Linked DNA regions of Homo sapiens: regions 1, 2, 3, 4, 5 and 6 are each linked to region 7. Evidence: promoter capture Hi-C in 16 types of primary human blood cells and fetal thymus (Javierre and others, 2016). All regions are on one chromosome and are shown on one strand. Each heading gives the region's core, a stretch centred on a gene start or on the middle of the fragment in contact. The rest is flanking DNA. Distances are from core to core; before and after follow the strand shown. Region 1 overlaps EFCAB11 (EF-hand calcium binding domain 11). Region 2 has its middle 190 kb from the start of EFCAB11. Region 3 has its middle 170 kb from the start of EFCAB11. Region 4 overlaps LOC124903356 (a long non-coding RNA gene). Region 5 has its middle 170 kb from the start of FOXN3-AS2. Region 6 overlaps EFCAB11 (EF-hand calcium binding domain 11). Region 7 holds the start of FOXN3 (forkhead box N3).

The links. Contacts are between HindIII fragments. The CHiCAGO score rates a contact against its expected background, and 5 or more counts as called.
Region 1: a fragment that was not itself captured here is called in contact with the fragment with the promoter of FOXN3 in region 7 in 6 of 17 cell types (megakaryocytes, endothelial precursors, M1 macrophages and 3 more); the score reaches 7.7 in megakaryocytes.
Region 2: a contact is called between a fragment that was not itself captured here and the fragment with the promoter of FOXN3 in region 7, in 15 of 17 cell types (naive CD4 T cells, naive B cells, total CD8 T cells and 12 more). The highest score is 18.4, in naive CD4 T cells.
Region 3: a fragment that was not itself captured here is called in contact with the fragment with the promoter of FOXN3 in region 7 in 4 of 17 cell types (naive CD8 T cells, total B cells, neutrophils and 1 more); the score reaches 7.2 in naive CD8 T cells.
Region 4: a fragment that was not itself captured here is called in contact with the fragment with the promoter of FOXN3 in region 7 in 1 of 17 cell types (M2 macrophages); the score reaches 5.4 in M2 macrophages.
Region 5: a contact is called between a fragment that was not itself captured here and the fragment with the promoter of FOXN3 in region 7, in 9 of 17 cell types (activated CD4 T cells, total CD4 T cells, naive CD4 T cells and 6 more). The highest score is 12.8, in activated CD4 T cells.
Region 6: a fragment that was not itself captured here is called in contact with the fragment with the promoter of FOXN3 in region 7 in 14 of 17 cell types (megakaryocytes, endothelial precursors, M1 macrophages and 11 more); the score reaches 17.8 in megakaryocytes.

Annotation. Positions count from the first base shown.
Region 1 is chr14:89,888,036-89,892,206 of GRCh38, reverse strand. All of the region lies in intron 5 of EFCAB11 (EF-hand calcium binding domain 11), which reads left to right. It also overlaps the pseudogene RAB42P1. Among named protein-coding and RNA genes, the nearest start is that of EFCAB11, 65 kb to the left of the region's middle. The HindIII fragment of the contact is 194 bases long and covers 1,802-1,995 here.
Region 2 is chr14:89,767,576-89,771,191 of GRCh38, reverse strand. No RefSeq gene overlaps it. Among named protein-coding and RNA genes, the nearest start is that of EFCAB11, 190 kb to the left of the region's middle. RefSeq lists an enhancer at 2,901-2,950. The HindIII fragment of the contact is 1,077 bases long and covers 752-1,828 here.
Region 3 is chr14:89,786,133-89,790,253 of GRCh38, reverse strand. No RefSeq gene overlaps it. Among named protein-coding and RNA genes, the nearest start is that of EFCAB11, 170 kb to the left of the region's middle. The HindIII fragment of the contact is 1,944 bases long and covers 712-2,655 here.
Region 4 is chr14:89,017,849-89,022,044 of GRCh38, reverse strand. All of the region lies in intron 1 of LOC124903356 (a long non-coding RNA gene), which reads right to left. Among named protein-coding and RNA genes, the nearest start is that of TRA-AGC15-1, 41 kb to the right of the region's middle. The HindIII fragment of the contact is 4,022 bases long and covers 1-3,472 here.
Region 5 is chr14:89,747,284-89,750,990 of GRCh38, reverse strand. No RefSeq gene overlaps it. Among named protein-coding and RNA genes, the nearest start is that of FOXN3-AS2, 170 kb to the right of the region's middle. The HindIII fragment of the contact is 4,117 bases long and covers 1-3,319 here.
Region 6 is chr14:89,915,922-89,919,567 of GRCh38, reverse strand. All of the region lies in intron 5 of EFCAB11 (EF-hand calcium binding domain 11), which reads left to right. Among named protein-coding and RNA genes, the nearest start is that of EFCAB11, 37 kb to the left of the region's middle. The HindIII fragment of the contact is 4,035 bases long and covers 271-3,646 here.
Region 7 is chr14:89,415,639-89,419,339 of GRCh38, reverse strand. It overlaps FOXN3 (forkhead box N3), which reads left to right and starts at 2,107. Exons shown (of 6, transcript NM_005197.4): 1 at 2,107-2,469. It overlaps FOXN3-AS1 (FOXN3 antisense RNA 1), which reads right to left and starts at 1,986. Exons shown (of 2, transcript NR_036500.1): 1 at 1,544-1,986; 2 at 1-180. RefSeq lists silencers at 1,726-2,015, 2,056-2,265 and enhancers at 1,961-2,255, 1,880-2,412, 2,413-2,946, 2,961-3,255. The HindIII fragment of the contact is 2,355 bases long and covers 1,027-3,381 here.

The sequences.
Region 1 (4,171 bases), core at 649-3,148, 470 kb before region 7:
GAGACACAGCGGGTGCTCTGCAGGTCACTCTTGTGGCCAACCAGCAGGAAGATGACCTTGTCCGGGCCCTGAGTGGCCATGACCTCCTGGTGCCAGTCTTGGATGTGTTCAAAGGACTTCCTGTTTGTCACATCAAAGACCAGCAGGACACCCACCACATTCCGGTAAAAGGACCCGGTGATGCAGCTGAAGCGCTCGTGGCCCGCGGTGTCCCAGAGCTGCAGCTTGACCCGCGGCCCAGCCCGCAGCTGCAGCGCGCGGCGGTAGCACTCGGCGCCCACCGTGGGCTCGGGCTTGGGCTGTGGGGCGCCAGGCGCGCCCGCCACGTAGCTCCGCAGCAGCGACGTCTTGCCCACCGCCGCGTCCCCCAGCAGCGCGACCCGAAATTGGTAGCGGCAGCCCTCGGCCTCCATGGCCGCGTCCCTATCCTATTATCTTTTTAATGCACAGTAGGATTCAGTTTGCTAATATTTTACTTAGGGTGGTGTGTGCGTGTGCGCGTGCGTGTGTGTGTGTGTGTTTGTGTCTAAAATGGAGCTGTAATTTTCCTTTCTTGTTTTGTTTCATTTCAAGCTTATACTGGCCTCATACAGTGAATTAGGGAGAATTCCCTCTTTTTATATTTGGTACAGATTTTGCTATTTTAATATAAATAAAATATTGCCTTGGAAATTTTATAACTTTAATTATAAACATAATCAGAAACCTCTTGCTTCTGACAATACATTGTTTTCTGCTACTTTGAAAAACTCTGATTTCTACCATAATATCTCAAACTCTTAAGTAATTTTAATGAATTAAAAGTACAAAGGTATTAAAAGGTTATAAACATTTATTAAAATCCTCTGTTACATCTTATAGTTTTCTATTCCCTGAAGTCACTTCAAGTTATTTATTTTTAAACATAGAACCTCTAGTTGAAGTCTATTTATGTCTGCTTCTGCTGGTTCTTGCTCATGGTGACTAGTTTCCCTGTAAACTTGTTTGTATTCAACTTTCTGGAGCTCACCGACCTTGAAAAATAATTTATGAGGAATTCCACAAGTCCAGGATGAAATCAGAGTGGTTTATGTGTTTTTGCCAGGCTCCTTGTAGCACAGTCAGTACAGGACTATATTAAAACAAATCCACAGATGGAAGTTTCTGTATTCACTCAAGGTATGTTTAGACCTAGGATCCCAGGGACTCTCCCAGTGAGGGTCAGTCAACACTCATAACTTCTCAGGGGTGAATGATCGTTTTTTATTTCATTTTTCTCTTACTCCTTTGCTCAGCACCAGGGAAACTTTCATGTAGTCCTTTGGATTTCAGCTTAATGTGGGAAAGTTATCCTGTGAGATGATCCAAATTGGCAAAGTCCTGGATCTTCACTTCTGGCCTCGTCTCCCCATGAGGCTACCAGACCGCAGCCCCAGTGCACGATGTGAGTGAATGCCTTCAGGGCAAAGGTGGCTTTGGGATGCCAACTTTCTTTCCACTAACCTCTTTGGGTTCAAGCTAGCCTCAAGAATTTGGCCTGGCAGCTCTTTTTAATTTTTCAGTCCTTTTAAGGTGGTTTTGTTTTAGTGTCTTATCCAGCATCTTTAGTTTTTTGCAGTGGGGAGTTGATCTGAGTATCCAAAAACAGAAACTCATGTGAATTCTTAAATACTTTGTCTCCCAAACTTTTCCTTCTAAATTCTGCTTTCCAAATATTGATTTATTAGGTAGACAATAAGAATTATTAAGTGTTAGAAAAGAGTATCACTTATTTGTAAGAGATATAGAAAATATATAAAATCAGTAATGCATTTCTAAAGCTTAGTAATTCTGGCATTTTAGCTTTACTTTATCTTCTATTGCTGTTTAAAGAATATGACCAAGTATTTCTGACCTTTTATTGCTCTTATATTGAATATCATTTAGAAGTTGTAAGCTAAATATTTATTTTCGTATAACCTAAAACCATAGTATTAGGAAATACTGATGTAATTTAGTGATCATGTCATTGAAGCTTAACATTTTTATTGCATTCATTATTTATGAGAAGAAATCATGCAGTGTTTCTGTTTTTATCAAGGTATTATATCTAAAAATCACTTTTCTTGAACTTGAACTCAATATTTATAAAAGTGCATTTTATAGTACTTATACCTACGACAAAATAATTGATTAACTGTGTCCAAGTGTGTTGATGGGTCCCCAAGGGCCAACGCTAGATTTGATGATTCACTAGAAGGACTTCCAAGACTCAGCCTACAGTCGTATTCATGGCTATGATTTATTACAGTGAAAGGATTCAATGCAAAACCAGCACACGGGAAGGGTACATGGGGTGAAGTCCAGGGGAAACCAGATGCCAGTTTCCCATTGTTCCCCTCCAGTGGAGTCACAGAGAACACAATTCCCCAATAGTAAGCTGTGACCAAACATGTGAAATGTGCCAACCAGGGAAGCTCAGTAGAGACTCAGTGCCCAGGGTTTAATTGTGGGCTGATCACACTGGCATTCTCTGTCTGGCATGTGCCAAAATTTCAGACTCGCAGAAGGAAAGCAAGTATTCAGTGGGAGCCATGTTGTCTGCACAAACAGTTTTAAGCACAGTGATCAACTCTTACCAGTTAATGGTGGTAGGAACCTTCCTGAAATCCAAGTTCCCAGATGCCAGTCAAGGGCCAGGCTTGTAAGCAGAATTGCAGTCAGGTCTGCTGTCTTAACTTTTTTCTACATGTGGAGGTGTGGCTGAAGTTTTTTAAGCACTTACCATTTGGCAAGCACTGTTCTAAGCCCTTTACTCGTTTCATCCTCACAATCACCATTTCATAGATGGGGAACTGAGGGATAGAGAAGTTAAAAAATTTGTCTCATATTTCACAGCTAATAAGTAGTAAAACAGGATTCATAGTAAGGCTTCGAATCCATGATTTTATCCAATACTTTATTTGGGTTTTTTTGAAAATTACTTTCATTTTGTCTCACCTCATGAATAAGATGTTCCATACATTTCCTTAAAATGGTGATTAAAATAAATTGTCAAAAAAAGGAAGAAATTGTCTTCATACAGCCCCTTTTAATCTTCAGTGTTGTTTCATGGCTCTTAATTTTCAGATTTGAAAAATCATTCTAATTATCATGCAAACCCTTCCTGATCTCATAGGCTTTTCTCTGCCTCTGTGTTTCTTCTGGGTTGGAGAATTTGAATTGTTTTTTCCATTTGTCTGGTCCTTGACCACTAATTTACTGCCATGGTTCTTTCTGTATTTCCCTTTTGGTATTTTCTGAAATTTAGCAATTAGAACTGCAAACAGAGACAGTATCACAGCGCCATGGTTTTATAAACAAAGACAGGACAGCTGTCTTAGTCCATTTGGGCTGCTATAATAAAAATACCATAAACTGGGTGGCTTATAAACAACAGAAATTTTTTTCTGACACTTCTGTAGGCCGGGAAGTCCAAGAGCAAGGAGCTGGCAAATCTGGAGTCTGGGGAGGGCCCACTTTCTGGTTCACAGATGGTACCTTCTAAATGTGTCCTTGATATAGTTTGGACATTTGTTCCCACCCAAATCTCATGTTGAACTGTAATCCCCAATGCTGGAGGTGGGGCCTGGTGGGAGGTGTCTGGATCATGGGGACAGATCCCTCAAGGCTTGGTGCTGTCTTCATGTTAGTGAGTTCTTGTGAGATTTGGCCATTTAAAAGTGTGTAGCACTTCCCCTGCTCCAACTCTTGTTCCTGCTCTGGCCATGTGACATGCCTGCTCCTGCTTTACCTTCTGCCATGATTGTAGGCTTCCCCAGAAGCCAAGCAGATGCCAACGCCATGCTTCCTGTAAAGCCTGCAGAACCATAAGCCATCTAAACCTTGTCTTTATAAATTATCTAAGCTCAGATATTTCTTTATAGCAATGCAAGAACAGCCTACTACAGTCTTCATATGGTGAAAGGAGAGAACTCTAGTCTCTTCAGCCCCTTATAAGGGCACCAATCCCATTCATGGGGGTTCAGCCTTTATGACCTAATTACCTTCCAAAGGCCCCACCTCCAGCCATCACATTGGTGATTAGGTTTTAACATATGCATTTGGGGCAGGCACAAATATTCAGACCATAGCAACAGCATTTTCTGTTTTATTTCCTTCTTTGTAATTCTCATCATTGTATTGGCCGTATTATCTACCTCAGTATGTTGAA
Region 2 (3,616 bases), core at 41-2,540, 350 kb before region 7:
GCTCAATTCTTTAGGACAGGGGTCGGTCCTTTTATCTGTAAACATCCTGTGCTGTTGGCTGGGTTCAGGTGTATGGTAACTGGCTTGACCTTAAAAGGCGCTGGAGGTGATGGTGGTGACTATGCTACTGCTGCTGCTGATAGCAACTATTGATCTCACAGGTGAGGCCAACTGCAGTATAAACCCCATCCTCTTTATTCTAAGGAACCATTACACTCTCTGTGTATGATGGATGATTGTTTGATGACGGTTAGATCAGATCAGAGATTTATTGTTTCCTACTTGTCGGTGATGTAATGATGACTTTAGGCACAAAGTTCTTTTCATTGATAGGCAAGTTTGCCCCTTTAAGCAGGGAGTGGGAGATGTCCTCGTGTTTGGTTTAGGCTGGGTCTCTCCAGACCAGTTTGTCTTTAGAGCCCATTGGAAGCAGTACAGCAGCTCAGTATCTGTTGTCTGTTCCCACGGTGGCTAGCGGGGATGGGGCTTATCATTTCTATGAGAACTGTAATGAATCATATAGGGGGAATCCTGACTTGAGGCGAATAGAGGCACACAATTAGTTAATTGCATCGATTTTACTGGTGGATTGCTCCCTATCTCAGTTCCCACACATTGCTATGTAGCTTGCAGTGTCTCTTATGGTGGGAATACACTTCTCTGCTCCATTGATATTGGACTTGGCACCATGACTTGCTCTGGCTAATGAGATGCAAGCGGAAGGGAGTCTGTGCGGGTAGGAGCTGAAGCTTTGGAGGCTTCACCCTTGCTTTCTTTCTCATTTATTCCTTTCCCTCTTCCATGGGAATGGCATGTCCCCGATGGGCACCGCTCTTTCAGCCTGGGCTGTCACATGCAATGTGAGTGAGAAATACATACTTGTTATTGTGAGCCACTGAGATGTTAGGAGCACTTGTTACAACATGTAACCTAGTGAAAGCTGACTGATACAAATGGTCACTTATTGTCCTGGTCATTCTGGTGAAAAATGGTCCAACCCTTAAACATGTGGCTATAGACTGAGCTTGTAACAACTCTACCCAAGAAAAACATCCTAAATCGAAGAAAATGAATGAACTACAGTCAGATTAAACCAACAATAACAAGAAGCCAATTTCGTATATCAAATTTGCAAGGGCTATAAAAATAATAGTATTAGAAAGAGTATACCAGAAACAAGCATTCTTAGACATTGTTAGTGGAAGTATAATTAGAACCACAGTGCTGGAGATAAATTCAGGAGCAATACTGATACCAATAATAGATGGTATTTATAGAGTGCCTTTATGTGCCAGGTTCTACTATTTTAAGTTTTTTTTGTTTTTTTTTTGTTTTGTTTTTTTTTAGAGGGAGTCTCGCTCTGTCACTCAGGCTGGAGTGCGGTGGCGCAATCTCGGCTCACTGCAATCTCCGCCTCCTGGGTTCATGCCATTCTCCTGCCTCAGCCTCCCGAGTAGCTGGGACTACAGGCGTCTGCCACCACACCTGGCTAATTTTTTGTATTTTTAATAGAGACGGGGTTTCACCGTGTTAGCCAGGATGGTCTCAATCTCCTGACCTCGTCATCTGCCCACTTCTGTCTCCCAAAGTGCTGGGATTACAGGTGTGAGCCACTGTGCCCAGCCTACTATTTTAAGTTTTATTGACCTTACTTGAATTAATAAAATTGATTTACATGTACTAACGTAATTCTTGTAATCATCTTGTAGGGAAGGTATTATTCTTAAAAATATATATATTTCAAAACCCTTAAAAATGTTTCTTTGCTCTTTGACGCACATCTGGGAGTTTATCCTAAGGAAATAATTACAGATGAGGTGAAAAAGCTTTATCTAAGAATGTTCGTGGCAGAATCGTTCATAATTGTGAAACTCAGAAGCAATATAAACATCCAGAAAATTGGAATCTTTTAAAAAAGTTGAACGCTTTAAAAGAGATATAAAAATATATGGTGGACATGAGAAGACTTTTATTTCCATTAAGTAAAAAAAGCAGCACTTTTTTTTTTTAGTGGCAGGGCACAGTGGCTCACACCTATAATCCCAGCACTTTGGGAAGCCGAGGCAGGGGGACCACTTGAGGTCAGGAGTTCGAGACCAGCCTGGCCAACGTAGTGAAACCCTGTCTTTACTAAAAATAAAAAAAAAATTAGCCGGGTGTGGTGGTATGCACCTGTAGTTCCAGCTGCTAGGGCGGCTGAGGCAGGAGAATCATTTGAACCCAGGAGGCAGAGATTGTGGTGAGCCGAGATCGCGCCACTGCCCTCCAGCCTGGGTGACAAGAGTGAAACTTCGTCTCAAAAATATATATAAAATAAAATTAAAAGTAAAATAATTTAAAAAAGCAGTTTAGTGAAAAATGCAGTGTAGACCTGCATTGTGTAATACAATAGCCACCAGCAACGTGAGCACTTAAAATGTGACTAGTCTGGGCCAGGCACAGTGGCTCATGCCTATAATCCCAGCACTTTGGGAGGCTGAGGTGGGTGGACCACCTAAGGTCGGAATTCGAGACCAGCCTGACCAACATGGAGAAACCCAGTCTCTACTAAAAATACAAAATTAGCCGGGCGTGGTGGCACGTGCCTGTAATCCCAGCTACTCGGGAGGCTGAGGCAGGAGAATCGCTTGAACCTGAGAGGAGGAGGTTGTGGTAAGCTGAGATTGTGCCACTGCACTCTAGCCTGGGCAATGAGAGCAAAACTCCGTCTCAAAAAAAAAAAAAAAAATGTGACTAGTCTGAATTGAGAAGTGCTGTAAGTGAAGACTTAATATGGAAATAAAAGAATATAACAATATTTCATTAATTTTTATGTTGATTCAAGGTTGAAATGATAATATTTGGGGCATATTACTAACATTAATTTCCCCTGCTTTTTTTGTACTTTAAAAAAATGTGGCTACTAGAAAAACTTGAAATTTCATATGTGGCTCATATTTATTTTAGGACTTGTGACCACACAGTTTCTGTTACAACTGCTCACTTGCGTTGTAAGTCAAAGCAGCCATAGATGACATAGAAATGAATGGACATCTCCGTGTTCTAATAAAACTTTATTTATAAAAACAGGTAGCCAACCAGGAGGGCAGTAGTTTGCTTAACCGTGGTCTAGACCAGAGTTTCCTAACCTTGGGCCTTTTGACATTTGGGGCTAGGTAATTTGTTGTTGTTGAGGGCTGGCCTGTGCGTTTTAGGATGTTTAGCAGTATCTCTGGCCTCAACCACTAGATGCCAGTATCACCACCTGCCCCAGTTTTGACAACCTAAAATGTCTGCAGACATTGCTGAATGTCTTCTGTGGGGGAAAAATCACCCTGATTGAGAACCACTGGTCTAGCTCATATGATTTTATTTCCGAGAAAACAAAAATTGTGTGCATGTGTAGTGTTCTGGATGGGTACACACCAAGGTGCAGGAGTTACGTGTTTGGTTTTTTTCCCCATCTTTTCATTTTTTGCATTTTCTAAATTAAGCATAGGTTATTTAATATGTAAAAAGGAACAATCGTGGGGCTGCATGTGGTAACTCGGGCCTGTAGTCCCAGCTACTTGGGAGGCTGAGATGGGAGGATCGCTTGAGCCCAGGTGTTCCAGATGCTTCTGGGCAACATAGAGAC
Region 3 (4,121 bases), core at 434-2,933, 370 kb before region 7:
GCCAAGTTTAATTTTAAATAACTTTTCTAAGGTCAAATGTGTCAGAGAGAGTTCTTGAGTCCATTTCCTTACCAAGCTTTCACTATTGCTACTTGTCTTGGACGGCCCATGGGATAGGATTTGTTCATTTCTTTCTTTTTTTCCTTCCTTGTTCCCTTTCTTCTTTCCTTCCTTAATTCCTAGAATTGCATATATTGGACCATCTAAGGTTCATTCGATCTGACCTGCTCCTTGGCTGACATTCAAACTTCTATGAGCAGATTTTTCCCCCTTACTACAAATTGAAACCAAAATTCCAGAACACTTTATGTCTTTCATCAAACATAGAAATCTCTGGGCCATGATTTCTTCAAATACTCCATTTACCACAATCTTGAAGAGAATGGCCTTCTCAAACTCCAGTTGTACATACTTTATATCAATAATATTATCTGACACATCTCTCATTGTCTATTCTTCTCCACCACATCTTCATGCTCTTCCTCCCCTTCCTCCTTTCTCTCCCTGTTTCAGTTGGATAATTTCTACTCTCATTTGTTTCTAGGGGCAATGTAAAATGGTACAGCCGCTTTGGAAGACAGTTTGGCAGTTTCTTACAAAGCTAAACATAGTCTTACCACATGACCCCTCAATCAAGCTTCTAGGTATTTACCCAACTGGTTTGAAAATTCCATCCACACAAAAACTTGCATATGAATGTTTATAGAAGCTTTCTTCATCATCACCAAAACCTAGAAGCAACCGAGATATGTTCTTAAGAAGTGAATGGATCTTCTACAAAATACCTGACCAATCCTCCTCAAAACTATCCAGCCCATCAAAACCAAAGAAAGCCTAAGAAACTCCAAGAGGAACCTCTGGAGCCATGGGGACTAAATGTAATGCAATAGCCTAGATGGGATCCTAGAACAGGAAAAGGACACTGTGGGAAACCTAGGAAATCTGAATAAGGTATGAACTTTAATTAATAATGTACCAGCATTAGCTCATTAATTGCAGCAAAGGTATCATACACATACAATGTTCATAATACGGAAAACTGAGTGCGTGATATGTATTAATTTCTATACTATCTTAATTTTTCTATAAACCTAAAACTGTTCTAAAGTAAAAAGTTTATTTTTAAAAAAATTCAGATCTGGCCGGGCGCAGTGGCTCACGCCTGTAATCCCAGCACTTCGGGAGGCCGAGGCGGACGGATCATCTGAGGTCAGGAGTTCAAGACCAGCCTGACCAACATGGAGAAACCCCCGTCTCTACTAAAAATACAAAAAATCAGCTAGGTGTGGTGGTGCATGCCTGTAGTCCCAGCTACTCGGGAGGCTGAGGCAGGAGAATCACTTGAACCCGGGAGGCAGAGGTTGCGATGAGCCGAGATCATGCCACTGCACTCCAGCCTGGGCAACAAAAGCGAAACTCCGTCTCAAAAAAAAACAAAAACAAAAAAAACAGATCTTACTTTATGGTGGATCTTCTATACCTTTCCACTATTTAAATTTATAATAAAAGTTTAAGGTATCAATTAAAAATATGGAAAAAGGAGTACATAACTTTTCGGAATAATGTTATGGAATACTTAGCAAAAAACCCGTGTAGAGCACCACTTGCGGCACTTTTTTTTTTTTTTTGTCTGGGACATGGAGTTTTGCTTCTCCTGCCCAGGCTGGAGCGCAGTGGCGCGATCTCGGCTCACCGCAACCTCTGCCTCCTGGGTTCAAGCGATTCTCCTGCCTCAGCCTCCTGAGTAGCTGGGATTACAGGCATGCTCCACCACGCCCAGCTAATTCTGTATTTTTAGCGGAGATGGGGTTTCATCGTGTTGCCCAGGCTGGTCCTGAACTCCTGAGCTCAGGCGATCCGCCCTCCTCGGCCTCCGAAAGTGCTGGGATTACAGGCGTGCGCCACCGCGCCCAGCTAATTCTGTATTTTTAGCAGAGATGGGGTTTCATCATGTTGCCCAGGCTGGTCCTGAACTCCTGAGCTCAGGCGATCCGCCCTCCTCGGCCTCCCAAAGTGCTGGGATTACAGGCGTGCGCCACCGCGCCCGGCCACCTACGGCACCTTTTTGGGACCCTCTGACTGCAGCCTCAACGATGGCCTCCCTAGTAGGGTCAGGCCTTTGCCGTAGGGAAGTGTGTTCACAGCCTCTTCTATGACTCGGATTGGTTTCTGACCAAGAAGAGACCTCATATAGTTTCAAGTATGTTTGAATTGCATTTTGAAAACATTCAAAAAAAGAAAGTCTCCAGCTTTCTATTATATTGCTTTCAATATACGTTTCAAGGAAAGAAATCCCTTAGCTTTGGACCTATTGAAAACAAAGGCCTTTCTACTTCTTTTGAACTTGGTAATTTCTCACAGTGCTGAGAAAACTGTAAGGTGCCATGCACCCATAAGGTGTAGTTCCTAGATTCACCCTGCAGCAGGTCTCGAAAGGGCTGCTAATGAGTGGCGCACACCCGCATACTGGGAGGAGCCCTCCCCCTGTTCTCTCTGCAGTCCTGGTGGCTTGGCCTCAGCTTGGCACTGAGTCACAGCCTCGGAAAACCAGCATGGTCATTGTGAGATTACTCAGGGACTAATTTGATTTTACAAAGTACATGTTTTCTACATTAAAGCTGTAATGGTTAACAAGCCTAATTCTTCCTTTAAGCTTTTACTATATAGACAGATCCTATTCTTCTATTTATAAATCTGGAAAGTTGTATGAATCACTCTAAGGTGGCTTTCATAATTCTGTTACATTTCCATACATTTTACCTGCATGTATAAAATATATATTCAGTTATCTTTCTGAATTAGTCAGGGTTCTCTATAGGGACAGGACTAATAGGATATATGTATATACGAAAGGGAGTTTATTAAGGAGAATTGATCCACATGATCACAAGGTGAAGTCCCACGATAGGCCGTCTGCAAATTGAGGAGCAAGGAAGCTGGTCGTGGCTCAGTCCAAGTACCAAAACCTCAAAAGTAGGGAAATTTACAGTGCAGCCTTCAGTTTGTGGCCAAAGGCCCGAGAGCCACTGGTGAAAAAGCTGAAGAACTTGGAGTCTGATGTTCCAAGGAGGGCAGGAAGCATCCAGCACGGAAGAAAGATGGAGGCCAAGAAGACTCAGCAAGTCGGCTTCCCCCACCTTCTTCTGCCTGCTTTATTCCAGCCGCACTGGCAGTTGATTGGATGGTGCCCACCACGTTGAGGGTGGGTCTGCCTCTCCCAGTCCACTGACTCAAATGTTAATCTCCTTTGGCAACACCCTCACAGACACACCCAGGAACAATACTTTGCATCCTTCAATCCAATCAAGTTGACACTTAATATTAACCATCACACTTTAGTTGATTGATCTTTTTAGGAATTTATCAATTTTATTAACCTTTTCAAAACGCCAACTTTTGGTCTTGTTGCTTTTCTGTTTGTTTTCTGTTTCATTATTTCTGCTCTTTATTATTTCCCTCCTTTTTTGCTCTTTGTTTTTTAGCTGCTTGAGAAATTAAGATCATTGACTTCCAGTATTTGTTTTCTAATATATATATTTAAGGTTATAAATTTCCAGTGAGTACTGCTTTAGCTGCATCTCAAAAGTTTTTATACATTTTATCTTCTTTATAATTATCATAAAACATATTTTCTAATTTCTGTTGTGATTGCTTCTTTGACACATGCGCTGTTCAGAAATGAAATGTTAAATTTTCAAAAATTGTGGGTATTCTAGTTTTCTTTGGTGATTTCTAGCTAATTTCACTGTGGCCAGAGGACTTATTCTGAATCTTTCAAATCTTTCAATCAATTCTCTTTTAAGACCTTTGGTTCTTCAATGAACAAAGACATCTTCCCATGTATTTCAACAAGTTTTTAAGAATAGTAAATTAAACTCTGTAATCTATTGTCTTAGTTCTCTTGAATGTTCCAACACTATTTGTAAGCTTGGATTTCAACTTAAAATCGTAAATCTAAGCCAACTTGTATTTTAAATTAGAATCGCCAAGTAAATCTGTTGATCAGTCTGAGGCTGTGCTGTCCAATGCGGTAGCCAACAGTGCATGTCATTATTTAATTTTAATTTTTAACACAATTAAATAAAACTTAAAATTTAGTTCACTGCTGAACAGCCATATCC
Region 4 (4,196 bases), core at 212-2,711, 400 kb after region 7:
CTCAAAGGTGTGGTTTCTGCCCTCAGAGAATTTATTCAGCTGGGCATGGTGGCTCGCACCTGTAATCCCAGCACGTCGGGGGCCAAGGCAGGCAGATCACTTGAGCTCAGGAGTTTGAGACCAGCTTGGGCAATATAATGAAACCCCACTTCTTTTTTTTTTATACTTTAAGTTCTAGGGTACATGTGCACAACATGCAGCTTTGTTACATATGTATACATGTGCCATGTTGGTGTGCTGCACCCATTAACTCATCGTTTACATTAGGTATATCTCCTAATGCTATCCCTCCCCACTCCCCCCACTCCACGACAGGCCCCAGTGTGTGATGTTCCCCTTCCTGTGTCCAAGTGTTCCCATTGTTCAATTCCCACCTATGAGTGAGAACATGCGGTGTTTGGTTTTCTGTCCTTGTGATAGTTTGCTCAGAGTGATGGGTGAAACCCCATTTCTACAAAAAAATACAAAAATATTGCCAGGTGTGGTGGTGTGCACCTGTGGTCCTAGCTACTTAGGAGGCTAAGTGGGGAGGATCACTTAAGCCCAGTAGGTGGAGGTTGCAGTGAGCTGAGATTGAGCCATTGCACTCCAGCCAGGGAGACAGAGTGAGACCCTGTCTCAAAGAAAAAAAAAATTACTCCTTGACTACCTAGGCAAAATAAAAACCTGTGAAACACTTACAAAACAATTGAGTTCAGTATATGTATGTCTTATGCCCAAGTTCAAATGCCCATGAGTAGAAATTAGAGGAAAATTATGGTCAAGATGAGAAAAAACCATCCCCCAAAAGGCAAAGAAAGAATCTGATCTGATTGCCATGAAAATTCAACTCTTGATCTCCCAGGACTTGATTATCCATGGTCATAGGAATCAGCCCTTGAATAGGACAGTTCAACTGGGGTCTAAGTGGAAGGCCAGCTGGAGTAAAAGGTGTGTGGGAAAGGGGTGCTCCTCTGCTCTTAGATGTCCCAAAGCCAGTGACTTGGCAGATCTTAGGTGTTCCTTGCTTGGGGCTAATGCTAAAATTAGTGAAGTGGCCCCAAGACTTTTTACTCCAAGCAAAACACTGGAGAGATTGTTAGGAAATTACACTGTTATTTCTACTGAAGAAGCATTTGACAAAATTCAACATCCTTTTATGATAAAAATGCTAAAAAAAAAAAAAAAAAACTAGGGATAGGAAGGAACTTTCTCAACCCTTTAAAAGATATCTATGAAAACCCCACAGCTAACATCATACGTAATAGTGAAAGACTGCTTTCCCCTTAAGACCAGGAACAGGAGAGGGATGTCCACTTTTGCCACTCCTATTCAACATTGTATTTGAGTTCTAGCCAGGGCAATTAGGTAAGAAAAAGAAATAAAAGGTATCCAGATTGGAAACAAAGAAGAAACATATGTAATGACCTTGTATACAGATAATCCTAAGGAATCCACTAAAAATTTATTAGAACAAACAAGTTCAGCAAAGTTTCAGAGTACAAAATCAATATACAAAAATCAATTGTATTTCCATATACTAGCATTGAACAATGAAAATAAAATTGAGAAAACAATTCCATTTCAATAGTGTAAAAAGGAATAAAATACTCAAAAATAAATGAAAGAAGTAGGTTGGGCAAGGTGGCTCACGCCTGTAATCCCAGCACTTTGGGAGGCTGAGGTGGGTGGATCACTTGAGGCCAGGAGTTCGAGACCAGCCTGGCCAACATGGCAAAACTCTGTCTCTACTAAAAAGACAAAAATTAGCAAGGTGTGGTAGCACACACCTGTAGTCCCAGCTACTCAGGAAGCTGAGGTGGGAGGATCGCTTGAACCCAGGAGGCAGAGGTTGCCATGAGCCGAGATGGCACCACTGCACTCCAGCCTGGGAGACAGAGTAAGACACTGTCTCAAAAAAAAAAAAAAAAAAAAAAAAAAAAAAAAAAAAAAAAAAAAGCAAACCTTATATCCAAAAGACTAAAAATCTAAAAATCATTGTTGGAAGAAATTGAAGGTCTAAATAAATAGAAGAATATCCCATGTTCATGGATTAGAAGAGTTAATATTACTCAGATAGCAATATTCCCTAAACTGATCTACAGATTGAACACATTCCCTATTAAAATCTCAGATGTCTTTTTGCAGATATTGACAAGCTGATACTAAAATTCTTAAGGAAGTGTAAGGGACTGAGAACAGCCAACACAATCTTGAAAAAGAAGAACGACATTGGAGGACTCACATTCTCTGATTTTAGAGCTAACTACAATTCTGCAGTGATCAAGAACATGTGGTACTGTCTATATGAGGACGGACAGACAGATCAGTGGAATGGAATTGAGGGTCCAGAAATAAACTCTCACATGCATGGTCAATTGATTTTCAAGATGAGTGCCTAGAAAATTCAATGGGGAAAGAGTATTCTTTTCAACGAATAGTGCTGGGACAACTGGAAGTCCACATGCAAAAGAATGAATCTGGACCCTTGCCTCACATTACATATAAACATGAACTCAAAATGGATCACAGACCTAACTGTGAGAAATAAAACTTTAATCTTAGAAGGCAAACCACTGTGATTTTTATTTTAAAATGATTCCTTAATTATGATACCAAAAGCACAGCAACAAACAGAAAAGGAGATTGTTTGGGCTTTGTCAAAATTAATATTCATGATTAAAAGGATACCATCAAGAAAGTGTAAAGACAACACACAGAATGGGAGAAAATATTTACAAATAATATATCAGTAAGGCACTTGTGTCTAAAATATATTTTAAAAACTCTTACAACTAAGTAATAAAAAGACAATTCAACTTAAAAATGGGCAAAGTTTCTGAAGAGAACTTTCTCCAAAGAAGATACACAAATGACCAACAGGCAAAAATATATTACCATCATTTATCATCAGGGAAATGCAAATTAAACTACAATGAGATAATACTTCACATTCACAGGATGGCTATAATAAAAAAAATCAGACAATAAAAAGTGTTGGAAAAGATGTAGAGAAATTGGAATTATCATACACTGCGGGCAGGAATGTAAAATGGTGCAGCTGGCGAGGCGCGGTGGCTCACGCCTGTAATCTCAGAGCTTTGGGAGACTGAGGAGGGTGAATTACCTGAAGTCAGGAGTTCAAGACCAGCCTGATCAACATGACGAAACCCCATCTCTATTAAAAACACAAAAATTAGCCAGGTGTGGTCGCACGCACCTGTAGTCCCAGCTACTCAGGAGGCTGAGGCAGGAGAATGGCTTAAACCCAGGAGGCGGAGGTTCCAGTGAGCTGAGATTGCACCACTGTACTCCATCCTGGAGGAAAGAGCAAGACTCTACTTCAAATAAATAAATAAATAAATGGTGCAGCCACTTTGGAAAAGTCTGGTAGTTTCTCAGTTAACCATTGTCACCAAGTTAACATATGACCCAACAATTTCACTCCTAGTTACATATCCAAGAAAAATGAAAAGATGTTCAGACAAAAGCTTGTACATGAATGTTCATAGTAGTTTTATTCATAAAACAGACACAAAGAAACAAACATCAATTGATGAATAGATAAATAAAATATGGCATGTTCATATGATGGAATATTAATTCAGACATAAAAAGAAATTAATTATTGATGCATGTCACAACATGGATGAACCTAGAAAACATGCCAAATGAAGGAAGCCAGACACAAAGGACCACATATCATATGATTTCATTTGTAGCAAATGTCCAGAAAAGGCCTGACTATAAAGACAGAAAGACTTGGGTTATACAATAACTAAACAGTAGAGGTTTTCTTTTGGGGAAGATGTTCTAAAATTGATTGTGGTAATGAATGTACAACTCTGTGAATATACTGAAAATCACTGAACTGTAAAATTTAAATTGGTGAATTGCATGGTGTGTGAATAAAGCTGCTAATAAAGAAATGCTAATACAGCTGTTAAAAATATCAGTGATCCTGCAAGAGTCTAAGAATAAAAGAAGCAATGGCAAATTAAATATACACCTTAATCATAAGACCCAGCATGGTTTCCGAAATGTTGCAAAATGTCATCTTAGAAATTAGGAAATTTGGTATGATACCCATTTTGTAAATGAAGAAATGAAGTCTCAGAGAGTTTAACAACTTGCCCAAGGTTACCCACTTAGTAAATGTCAAGGCCAGGACTCAGGTACGGGGCTGGCACTCCACTATAACAACTCCAGGAAAGGGA
Region 5 (3,707 bases), core at 12-2,511, 330 kb before region 7:
TGGATGAGTTGAGGCTTTAGCAGTTTAGTTGTAAATAAACTCTAAATGCATTGGCGTTCACTTACCTCGTTGATATCCTGCCTCTCCAGTTAAGAGCAAGGGTGTTCAGTGACTCTGAATTATTCTCCTTCATTCATCAGAGACTGGACAGCCAAGGGATTAATCTCCACAAAAGATCCAAAGACATTTGACAGTTTCCATCACTCCCAATTTTGGCTGGAATTCTGGTTATCTCACGGCTGAAATTTGGTCGCGTTCTTTGGAAAGGCCTCCAATAAACCTCCTGTTTACGGTCTACTTGGAATATGGCTGCCCTTTGGCCTTGCACTGTGTACACAATCCCAGGACATATTTTCCTTCAGGCAGCTGTGCTAATTTCTTGTGCACTGAATAAAATGTAATTTGTTAAGATCTTGGCCAGAGTCTCTGCCTTCATATGAACTAGCTTTTGAAATGACTTAAAATGATGGTCTCTCCCTTTCAAGAGTCGCTTGCTGTTTTGTTTCATCATGTGGTTGGAGATATACTCTACACAGCACCCTGGTACTCATAGAACATGCTATCTTAAACAAAAGTGTATATTTGGAAACACTAGGATGATTTCATCATAGGCATTAGCCCATGAGTGCCTGGCACATAATAACCAATAAGCACTCACTAAATTGTTTTCGAATAAAGACTGAGAAAATGAATTTGTAATCCTTTGACCCATTTGTGGTTTTTGCTGCTGCAGTTATTTATATTTTCATCTACCCCTTAGATTATTATGTAACTGTGTTTGTGTAATGATTATTTCAGCTAGAACATATTGGAAACCTCCATTAACATAACTGAAGGGTATAAAATAGAATGTTTGGAGTTGTCTATTAGCCGATTTGTCTTACGTTGCTTTTCTTCATTATTTCAGTGCTGCTAACAGTTCATTCAGCACGTTTTAATTAAAATCAAACATATGTGGGCCTGCTAAGAACTCTAGTGTCTACTCGTGTAGTTAGACCGGGGTGGCAAACATTTCTAGCAGTGACCATACGATATCTTCCATTCATCTCAGCAGTAATCCTCCAAATCTCATTACTGGGAGGATGGCGGCTGCACTCGGTTAGGCTTTTCTTTATTTTTGCAGAGATGTATTTTTTCAGCCGGTTGCCTTGCAGAAAATCAGCTGTGGCCAGGGGCCTTTCCAAAGCTGAAGTCCCAGCATCTACAGAACTTTCTCCCACTTGTTTTCCATTTTTCCACTACCCATTTGTTCCTGCCCATGGGCTTCTGGCCTGATGATGTTCTAAAGAAATGCATAGTCTTCTGACAAGATCTCTTTTTCAGTTTGTACAAATATGTTAGGTATATTCTTGTGACTCGAGGGGACGATCATGGAACAGGTGCCAGCAGGGAACTTTGTTGATGGGTACGGCATTACCTGCATGAAGTCGCCATGTGTCAGAGTCTGGTCTTCAGCTCTGTAGACCCAGAAGCATGATTCTGCCAGTGTGGCGGGAGTAGTGTAGTCTCTTACTAACTGAGGACACAGAGGAGAATGTATTCATTTAAAATGAAAATGAGAACTATTGAAAAATAGTCACTCATACTGAGTGGCCCTATAGGGTACCATTCGAGAATGGGGACTCTGGAGTGAGACTGCGTGGGGTCAAATCCTGTTTGTGCTGCTCACTAGCTACGTGACCTGGGGCAACATTGCTAAATTCTACTAAGTGTGGCAGATAGACTTTAAGGAGGCCGCCATGATCCCTGCCTCTTCGTATTCACAGCTTGTGTCATGCTCTTCCCCACAAGGGCGGGTGGGACCTGTGATGTGCTTCTAATCAGCGGCAGACAGCAAAGGTGATGGGAAGCATGTGATTATGTTAGAGCATAGCATGTCTCTTTCCTGGGACACATGCCTTTGGAGCCCTGAGTCACCAGCCACCGTGTAAGTGTCCAGATACCCTGAAGCCACCGTAGTGGAACAACCAAATGGAGAGACCAAACAGAAATAGAGAGAGATGCCCAAGGAGTCGCCTGTCTTCATGCTCTAGCCTGCAACTGTTTGGGTCTTCCCAGTCCAGGCCCCAGACAGGTGTATGAAGAGGCCTTTAAAATGATTCTAGCAGCCAGGTGCGGTGGCTCATGCCTGTGATCCCAGCACTTTGGGAGGCCAAGACGGGTGGATCACGAGGTCAGGAGTTTGAGACCATCCTGGCCAACATGAAGAAACCCTGTCTCTACTAAAAATACAAAAAATTAGCCAGGCGTGGTGGCGCAAGCCTATAATCCCAGCTACTCGGGAGGCTGAGGCAGGAGAATTGCTTGAACCTGGGAGGCGGAGGTTGCAGTGAGCCGAGATCACGCCACTGCACTCCAGACTGGGCAACAAGAGTGAAATTCCATCTCAGGAAAAAAAAAAAAAAATTCTAATTCTCCCTACATGTTGACTGCAACCATGGCCAGTCCCAGAGCGAGAACCACCTAGCTGAACTCAGTCAACTTCTAGAACTGTGTGACACGAGAAGAAATGATTGTAGTTGTTGTAAGCCACTATTCTGAGATAACGTCTTAGGTAATCATAGAGAACATGAAAATATATATATCTCCAAACTCACGTGTGTATGCATATGTATTCATGCAGACATGTTTCAGGCTTGGTAATGAGATGGGGTCAATGCTATTGTCACATTTACCTGTTATATCATAAACGCTTACCTTCCGCATGGTCAGCATGTATGGTGTTGATTGTTTATAAATACCAGATCCATGATATACAGTCATTTGTAATTTTGCTGAGCCATGAATTTGAGTCACAGGCTTGTGGGCGGGAGTGAATTTCTTAGCTAGTGAGTGATCCTAGCTGACTGTCAAATAAACAGAGTTTTGTTCTCGATGTGTAGTTCTTTATGCAGTACATTTTATGATGTGATTTTTTTTAAAAGAGATGTGGTCTTGCTATGTCATCCAGGCTGTATTTGAACTCCTGGCTCAAGTGATCCTCCCACCTCAGCCTCCCAAGTAGCTGGGACTACAGGTGCATGCCATTGCACCTGGCTTAATGTGATTTTTTTTTCTTGAGGCTGTGTTCCTTTGTCAAAAAATCAGTTCTGCTAGTCCTAGTGTTCGAAATAAAGAGAAAATAAAGAGGCCTGAGAAAGACATTCCTAGCCCAATAATGAAATTTCAAGGAACAGAATGTCAAATGTGATGATGACTTGGCTTTATGATATGAAAACAGTTGGAGGATGTGATCTCAAAACAAGGAAGCATAATTCATTAAGCCATTTTGCCAAGAACTCTGATCAGAATGTGGTAGCTTATAAAGGCATTAGAAGCTTCAAGATATTATTCACATTTTTCAGTCAAAATATACCAGATTTGGGGAGGAAATGATATGCTATTGTTATATTCAACAATTTGTAGGGCGTTTGAAGGTGTAGGGACATATACCTCTTGCATGTCAACAGAATGTAGTCGTTAAACATTACATATGAGACCCTCTCCTAGGCTTGTGCAGCATTGAGAAAAATATAAGTCATTGTTCTTGCTGTTGAGATGCATACAGTTTATCCAGGTGATGGGTGTGGGGTAAGAAAGGAAATAAACAAAGGACAAGTTAAATATTACCACGTCACGTGGTGGTGAATGTAGGCTGTGATTCGCTGGTGTAGAGAATAAGGGCAGTTAGTTGAGGAGAGAGAGAGAACCTGAGATCTCTCAGAGGA
Region 6 (3,646 bases), core at 1,039-3,538, 500 kb before region 7:
CGGTGGCTAGACATGAATCCTGGACTCTTGTCATTATTCCCGACCCTCCTCCTTTCTCCCAGTGCCATGTCCTCCACATGCCACACCTCTAGTCTCCTTAGCTACCATTAAGCCCAAGAATCAATGTTGACACCACTTTTTCCTCCTTATCTTCACTTAGGCCTCTGTCCAAGGCCCCCGCCCTTTGTTCTGACCCATACTGCAGGGCCTGCACTGTTAAGTGGGCTCAGGTGCTTGGACCTGCTCTTGGCCGATCTGAGATCTGAAGCTTACTTACCACTTGCCTTCTTTCTTTAATGTGTCTGCCTCCCCATCATACATTCCACAGTGAATTAGTGTTTCTCTCTCTCTCTCTCTCTCTCTGTCTCTCTCTCTCTCTCTCATCAAGTGTGATGTCTGAGAAATCTCTAAACTCTGCTATCCACCTTCCTGGATCCTCTTGCTTAGATCCCCTGGTGCCGGCCTTGATCCCAGAATGGGACCATGTCACAGTACAGGCAGAAACTGATCTCTATGTGACCAAAGTGTTTGGGCTACCAGAATCTGTCTTCTGTACTCAGTTCCCCCACCCTGGTCCTGTGTCATTCCAGAATGCCTTCCATTTCATGCAGAGATCTGGTATGCCTGTCACTCAGGTCAGACAATACCCCTATTGCTATCCAGGAGAAATGTAACTCAGCTGGCTTCAGTTCCCTGTTATAGGGATGGCACGTAGTTGACATGCCTGCCACTGACCCCTCCTGTACCTGTGGCTGCCCTCTTCTGCAGAACTCAGAGTTCTTCTCAGTACAATACCCCAAGCCAGCTCATTAGAGTTGTCATATGAGATCAAATCTCTTGCTCTCTCTGTAAGGATGTATTCTCTGTGATGGTTGTACCAAACCTTTCCCACTACTGTGCTTTGCAGGTGATCTTGCCTTTTTCTTCATGGAGAGGATCATGGCCTCTTCCTGGGTTTACTGCCTTCTCTTCATCTCTTTTCTGTATTCCTTTAATTTTCTTTCTTCTTCTTCTTCTTTTTTTTTTTTTGAGATGGAGTCTCGCTCTGTTGCCCAGGCTGGAGTGCAGTGGTGTGATCTCGGCTCACTGCAACCTCCACCTCCTGGGTTCAAGCGATTCTCCTGCCTCAGCCTCCCAAGTAGCTGGGATTACAGACGTGTGCTACCATGCCCGGCTAATTTTTGTATTTTTAGTAGAGATGGGGTTTCACCATGTTGGTCAGGCTGGTGTGGAACTCCTGACCTCAGGTGATCCACCTGCCTTGGCCTCCTAAAGTGCTGGGATTACAGGCGTGAGCCACCACGCCCAGCCTTCCTTTAATTTTATTTCTGAGGAAAAGGGGTCTCTTCTTTTTTTCCTAATTCCTCTCTTTTGTTCTGGTCTTCTCTCTTCCCCTTTTTTTGATCTAAGACATTTCTCCATCAGCCATTCCCACTTCTGTTTATAATGCCTATCCCTGCCTGAAGATATACTCATATCCATCCTAGAAAGCTGCTCTCCCCAACTAAGTACCTCCAGTTGTCCCCTGTCCTTTTTCTCAGGGTTCATTGTTGCCAGCTTCTCACAGCATTCACACCCTGCCTGGAGAGCCAGTCCTCGATTCTCGCTCTTCCCCAGCTTTCATTGCACTGTATTGTCCACTGCAGTCACAGTGCTTCCCGTTCATTGATTACCAACTACGTGTTGCCTTACTTAGTCCTTACAGTGACTCTCCACATCAACGGCATTTCTATCCATTTTACAGTTAAAGCTGAGAGTCCTTTATTGCTCAATTCAAACCAAACAACTAATTCGCAATTATTATTATTTTTTTGGTCAAAGAAGTCACAGAACCAAGCCCCTAGGGCAATCAGAATTTTTTATTTGATTATAATCATGTTGCTGGTACTTGTTAATGGTCAAGTGTTTTCATAACCTCAAAATGTTATTTTCTTGTTTAGAAATGCCACTGCCTAGTAATGATAATGATGGAGTAGACTGAATTTACAGGTAGAATAAAATGTCTGCACTCCCATGTTAATTGCAGCATTATTCACAATAGCCGAGATATGGAAACCCATATTAAGTGCCCACCACTGGATGAATGGATAAAGAAATTGTGGTATGTGTGTACAGCAGAATATTATTCAGCCTTAAAAAAGAAGGAAATCCTGCCATTTGCAACAGCATGGAGGAATCTGGGGACATTATGCTAAGTGAAAGAAGCCAGACACAGAAAGACAAATATTGCATGATATTACTTATATGTGACATCTAAACTAGTCAAACTTGGAGAAAAAGAGTGGAATGGTAGTTGCCAGGGGCTGGGAAGTGGGGAAGATGGGGAGATGTCGGTCAGAGGATACAAAATTTTAGTTACAGGGTGAATGAATTCTAGTGATCTAGTGTACAGCATGGTAACTATAGTTAATGTGTTGTGTACTTCAGATTTGCCAAGGGAGCAGATCTTAAGTGTTTTCAACACACACATACACACACACACACACACACACACACACACACACACACACACACGAAGCATGTCAGGTGATGGATATGCTAATTAGCTTGACTGTGAGTCATTACACAAAGTATACTTTTATAAAAACGTCATCTTGTATACCTTAAATATAGACAATTTTTTGTCAGTCATACCTCAAAAAATGTCTACACAGACTTAGTGAGACTCATGACATGAGTCATGTTAAAGGATATAAGAAACAAATAAAAGTTTAAAAATGCTTTTCTTAACCCAAGTCTTATTGTTAGGATTCCTCATAATCCAGTCATGACTTCAATTAGAAATCCTTGCCGTGGGATATCAAGACTCTTGTCCAAGGAGAGGAAGGGGCAGGAGGGTCTCACTCTTGTTCTCTCCTTGTAAAAATTTAACTCTGTTTGCAGGAGAGAGTATTTGACGAATACATGAACAAATAAATGAATGAAATGAACGAAGGAATAGAATTAATCTGATCAAAGTTTACATGTTCAAATTATGTGTTGAATTGGATAGAGCAGCTGCTGGCCCTTACTTTTTTCTGGGCCTATTTCAAATGGTCTTCTTTACTAGGCTTTCAATTGGAGATTTAGACTTGGAGGCTTTAACAAATATGAATTGAGTACACATTTGTATAGCGATTTAAACTGCTATTATCACAAAATTGTCACAGTAGTTTTAAACTCTGTCAGATGGCTTTTAACCAAACCCTGCCATCAGAGTCAAATTTGATTCTTTGGATGGTTCTTTCCTTTTTTCTGTCTCTTTCACATTGTCTAGTAAAGAAGTTTCTTCAATGACCAGTTTTGTCATAGAGTTGGTGCCATTTATTCTGTGGGTTACAAATTTATCATCACAAGTAGCTAGATGTACTTCTCATAGACAACTTGTATCCACAAATTTGTTGTTTTTTTCTTTTTTTCTTTTTTTTTTTTCTGAGCCATTCTCCCTAGAAAACACAAATTGTTTTGGGGGGAAAAATTAGACTGTTCTTCAGGGGTATTTATTTTCATGATTCACTGTGCAGAGATCGGAGTTGTGCCTTAAGGGCTTGGCTCTGCTCTCTTGATACTGGTATCCATTGCTAGGTGTGGCTCAATTAAACAGGAAGGATGGCTAGATAGCATATATATTCACATGTCAAATGGCAGCATCCATCTTTGAGACAGG
Region 7 (3,701 bases), core at 858-3,357:
AGGTTCTATGGAATTAGAAGGTGGAAAAGGCCACATTAAGCCCTCCTTTGGCTTTCAGCATTTTTTCCCCCATTTCAGATAGACCGACAGGCAGACATGTGTCCCCTGCTGTCCACATCAGGCAGGGCTGGTCCACCACTTCCTCTTCAGGGTGACACCTTCTCACATCTCTTGCTGCAACTGTAATGGGAGAGAGAAATTAAGAAATATGTTTGAGAATGCAAGAAGCAAAAACACACATGGAATGACATATTCCATGTACAATCACCTTTGGCTCACATCCCCTCTTTTTGAACTCTGAGAAAGCAGGAGGGGACTGGGGCCGGTGAAAATAAGGTGCCACCTCTACTTAATATAAAGAGATTTCTGGCTATTGTGTGAGTGTAGCTGGGGGACTTGGGGGTGGGGTTGGGGGCTGGGGATGGAAGAGGAAGATGTAAGGGGGCGACTTCGTCCTCTCTAGGCCAGCAAGGGCTTGGACAAAGGTCTCTGGCCTTGGTTCCTCTGGCGGAGAATAAGCACCCTCAACTGACGCGCTGATGGAGGGGCAGGACCTGCATTAGCCGGAGCTACAGGAAAGCAGGGTACACATTGTCTCATCCTGGCTTTGTTACCACTTCTAACCCTGAGAATCTCTGGCGTGAGACTTCAAAGATCATCTGACTTGTCTCTGCCACCTTGTGCCTTTTGCTTAGTGACTTTGGGTAGGTCGCATCAAGTGCTCAGTAATCAAAGGGGTGGGGCTGGATGACCTCAGGCTACCCCTGGGCTTCCACCTCCTAATTGTCTCCAGATGGGGAGATGCCACACAACTTGGAAGTAGTAAGGTCTCCGGTGAGTCTGAAAGGCACATCTTTGCTGAAGACTTGTCACCTGCCCTCTTGAACCTTTGTTAGGGGGAATGACTCTCAGATTGGGGGGGGGGGGTCTATTTTTTGAGACAGAAAAAATTTTCAGAAGCCTAACTGGTGTTTCCCTTAGTCCCTCCTTTTGGCTAGGTTTAAAAGTACTGCATGCTAGAAAGCTTTCTCCAGGTCTACTCGCTGTTTTTTTCTGTAGTTTTCAGACCGCTCACGATGTCCTGTCCACTGGCTCAGGAGGGGGTGGCAGGAAGGGTGCCCTGGGCTTCTCCTCTGTAGAGGAACCAACCAATTTGGCTACCTGGGAGTAATGTGCAATCACATTTTTATTTTTGTCACCACCAGGGTGTCCTGTTGGACTCTCTCCTCTCATCCTCTCCCAAGGCGGCTGGTTGGTGTGGCTTTAGCAGTGGGTGCTATTATTTGGAGGTGCCTAGAGACTTAGAGTGGTGGCTGCACCATTTCGCTGGGTGGCTTGCGAATTGTCAGTCTGGTTCCTGAGAGCTCAAACTGAGATGGAAATGAGACCTGTTTTCTCTCTAGGCCGGCCGGGGCGTTCCGCACAACCCACTTGAGAGGCCCCACCGGCGTGGCCTTTAGGACGGTGCCTCTTGTCTTGTAATGGCCACCGGCCCTCCCTCGGGAGACACGCGGCCACCTGGGTGGGACGCTGCGGTGCTTACCTCCGGGACACGAGGTGGTCGCTGGGAGAGGGCTCGGAAGGCCCTGGGGGTCCTATCAGGACGCAGCACTGGGGAGACGTGGAATCTCCTCTTCTCACCCCCACAAGCCTCGCCCGCATCGTAATTCTTTTTATTTTTACTTTCGAGCCATGTAAGGCATGCAGATGGGGTAGGAGCGTTCCCGCGACACGTTGCCAGCAGCGCAGCGCCGGCCCGCTCGTGTGGCCGGAGCCCGGGGAGGGGACAGGGCACGCGCCGCCTGACCCACCTGCCCCACCGCCCACGGTCGCGGCCGCCCTGGGTCGCGGGACCCGCGCCGGTCACCCCCGCCCCGCGGGGCCCAAGAGGCGAGGCCGCGCGGCCCAGCCCCGGCCTCCGCCCTGGCTGAGTGCTGGGGCGCGCGAGGGGCGCGGGCAGGGTCCGCCCCGGCGGGTCAGTGCCCCGCGCCCCAGGCCGCTGGCGGCCAGGCCCACGTTTTCCCTTTCTCCGGCTCCCTCCGCCCTCCGCTCTGTCCCTCCCTCCGCCCTCCTCCCTCCCCGCGCTTCCCCTCCTCCTGCCTGGTCATGTGTCGCCTTTTTTTGTTTGCAGTGGAAACAATTTCTCGCCGCTCGGCGCGCCCCGGCCCGACGCGCCGCGGCGGAGGCGAGCGGGAGGCGGGACGGGGCGGGGAGAGCGGCGGGGCCGGCGGGAGGACGCGCGGCGCGCCCGGCGGACGCCGCAGGTCCCATGCCGCGCCGCGACCCCCGCGCCCCTGCCGCCCGCGCCCGCGGCCGCCCCCCGCCGCCCGCCGCCCCGGGCTCGCCGCGCCGCGCCCGCGCGTCCTTAGCGGGGCCACCGAGCGATGCCCGCCGGGCGCCCGCGAAAGTTTGTCGGCTCCTGCTGAAGGGCAGCGGCGCCCCCGCACCCCCGTGCCCCGCTCCGGCCAGGTGAGTTTGCACCCCGCTCCTGCCGGCTCCCGCGTGGGCTCGGGGGGCACCCGGGGCGGGAGGCGCGTCCGAGACGGTCCTGGAGACTACCTCGCCGCTCTGGGAAGACGAGGGACCCCGCAGGTCCTGGGGGGAGGGTCGGGTGTGGACCCCGGGAGCCCCCGAGCCGGGAAGTTGCCGGGTCCGAAGAGTTTCCTGCCCCGACGTGCGTGCTGCTTCCCGGTGCCTCGGTTTCCGAAAAGACGCCCGCAAGGAACAGAGTTGGTATTGTCTGCGGAGGACGGGGTCCCCGCCGTTCCGGGCCGGGGAGGGGGTTCCGATCAAGTGGAGACCCCAAGATGAGAAACAGGCTCCTAACAAAGATCACCCCCCGGCCAAACTGTGCAGACTTGGCACAGGCAACGAACGTCTCCGGAGACCCCCGAGGCCCGACCCCCCTCATCCCGGCCCTGTTTGAAACCCTCCTTGGGCCCTGGATAAGTTGGGGGACGGCGGGCTTTTATTGATTTGTTTTCGAGGCTCGCCGCGGTGCGGCCAATAAAAGGTTTATGACATCTGACCGGCAGTGAAGGTATGCGAGCTCCCAATTGCCCTGTATATGGGGATAAGAGCAGTTTCCCCCGTTGCCCGGCAACGCCGCTGATTGACGCGGGGTGCAGCCAATCGCCACTCCCGCAGGTCCCCTTGAAATGTTTTTGACAAGTACAGTAGACGAGAGTGAAGCGCGTGCGTGCGCGCGCGCGCGTGCTGGGTGGGCGGGGGTGACCCGGCCCCCCAAACTCGCTACTGCTCGGCTCTGGGAAGATTTCTTAACTTTTTAAAGTTCGCATCGAACATCTGTTCAGAGCTGGGCCAGTAATGTCTTTGTCAGTTATTTGGAGACCTTCTGTTTACTAGGCGAGAAACTAAGCTTTCTTGCCGCATTTTCTCCGTTAAAAAATAAAGAGGGTAACAAAACACAGCAAGTCATAAAAAAAACAAAAGAGGGTGTGTGTGTGTGTGTGTGTGTGTGTGTGTGTGTGTAGAGAAAAGTTGTAAGGAGGTCACCAGTGAATAACTATTTGCGTATCTGGTGGAGCAGCCTTGTTGGCAGCAGATTAAAAATGTTTGCTTAACTGCAACTCACATGATCCAGATTCTTTTTTTTTCCCTCTGAAACAGGAGGAAAAAAAGATTTGGCGAAATCTGTAGTTAGAGTATAATAATGGAAAACTCCTCAGCTGTGGTTTCTG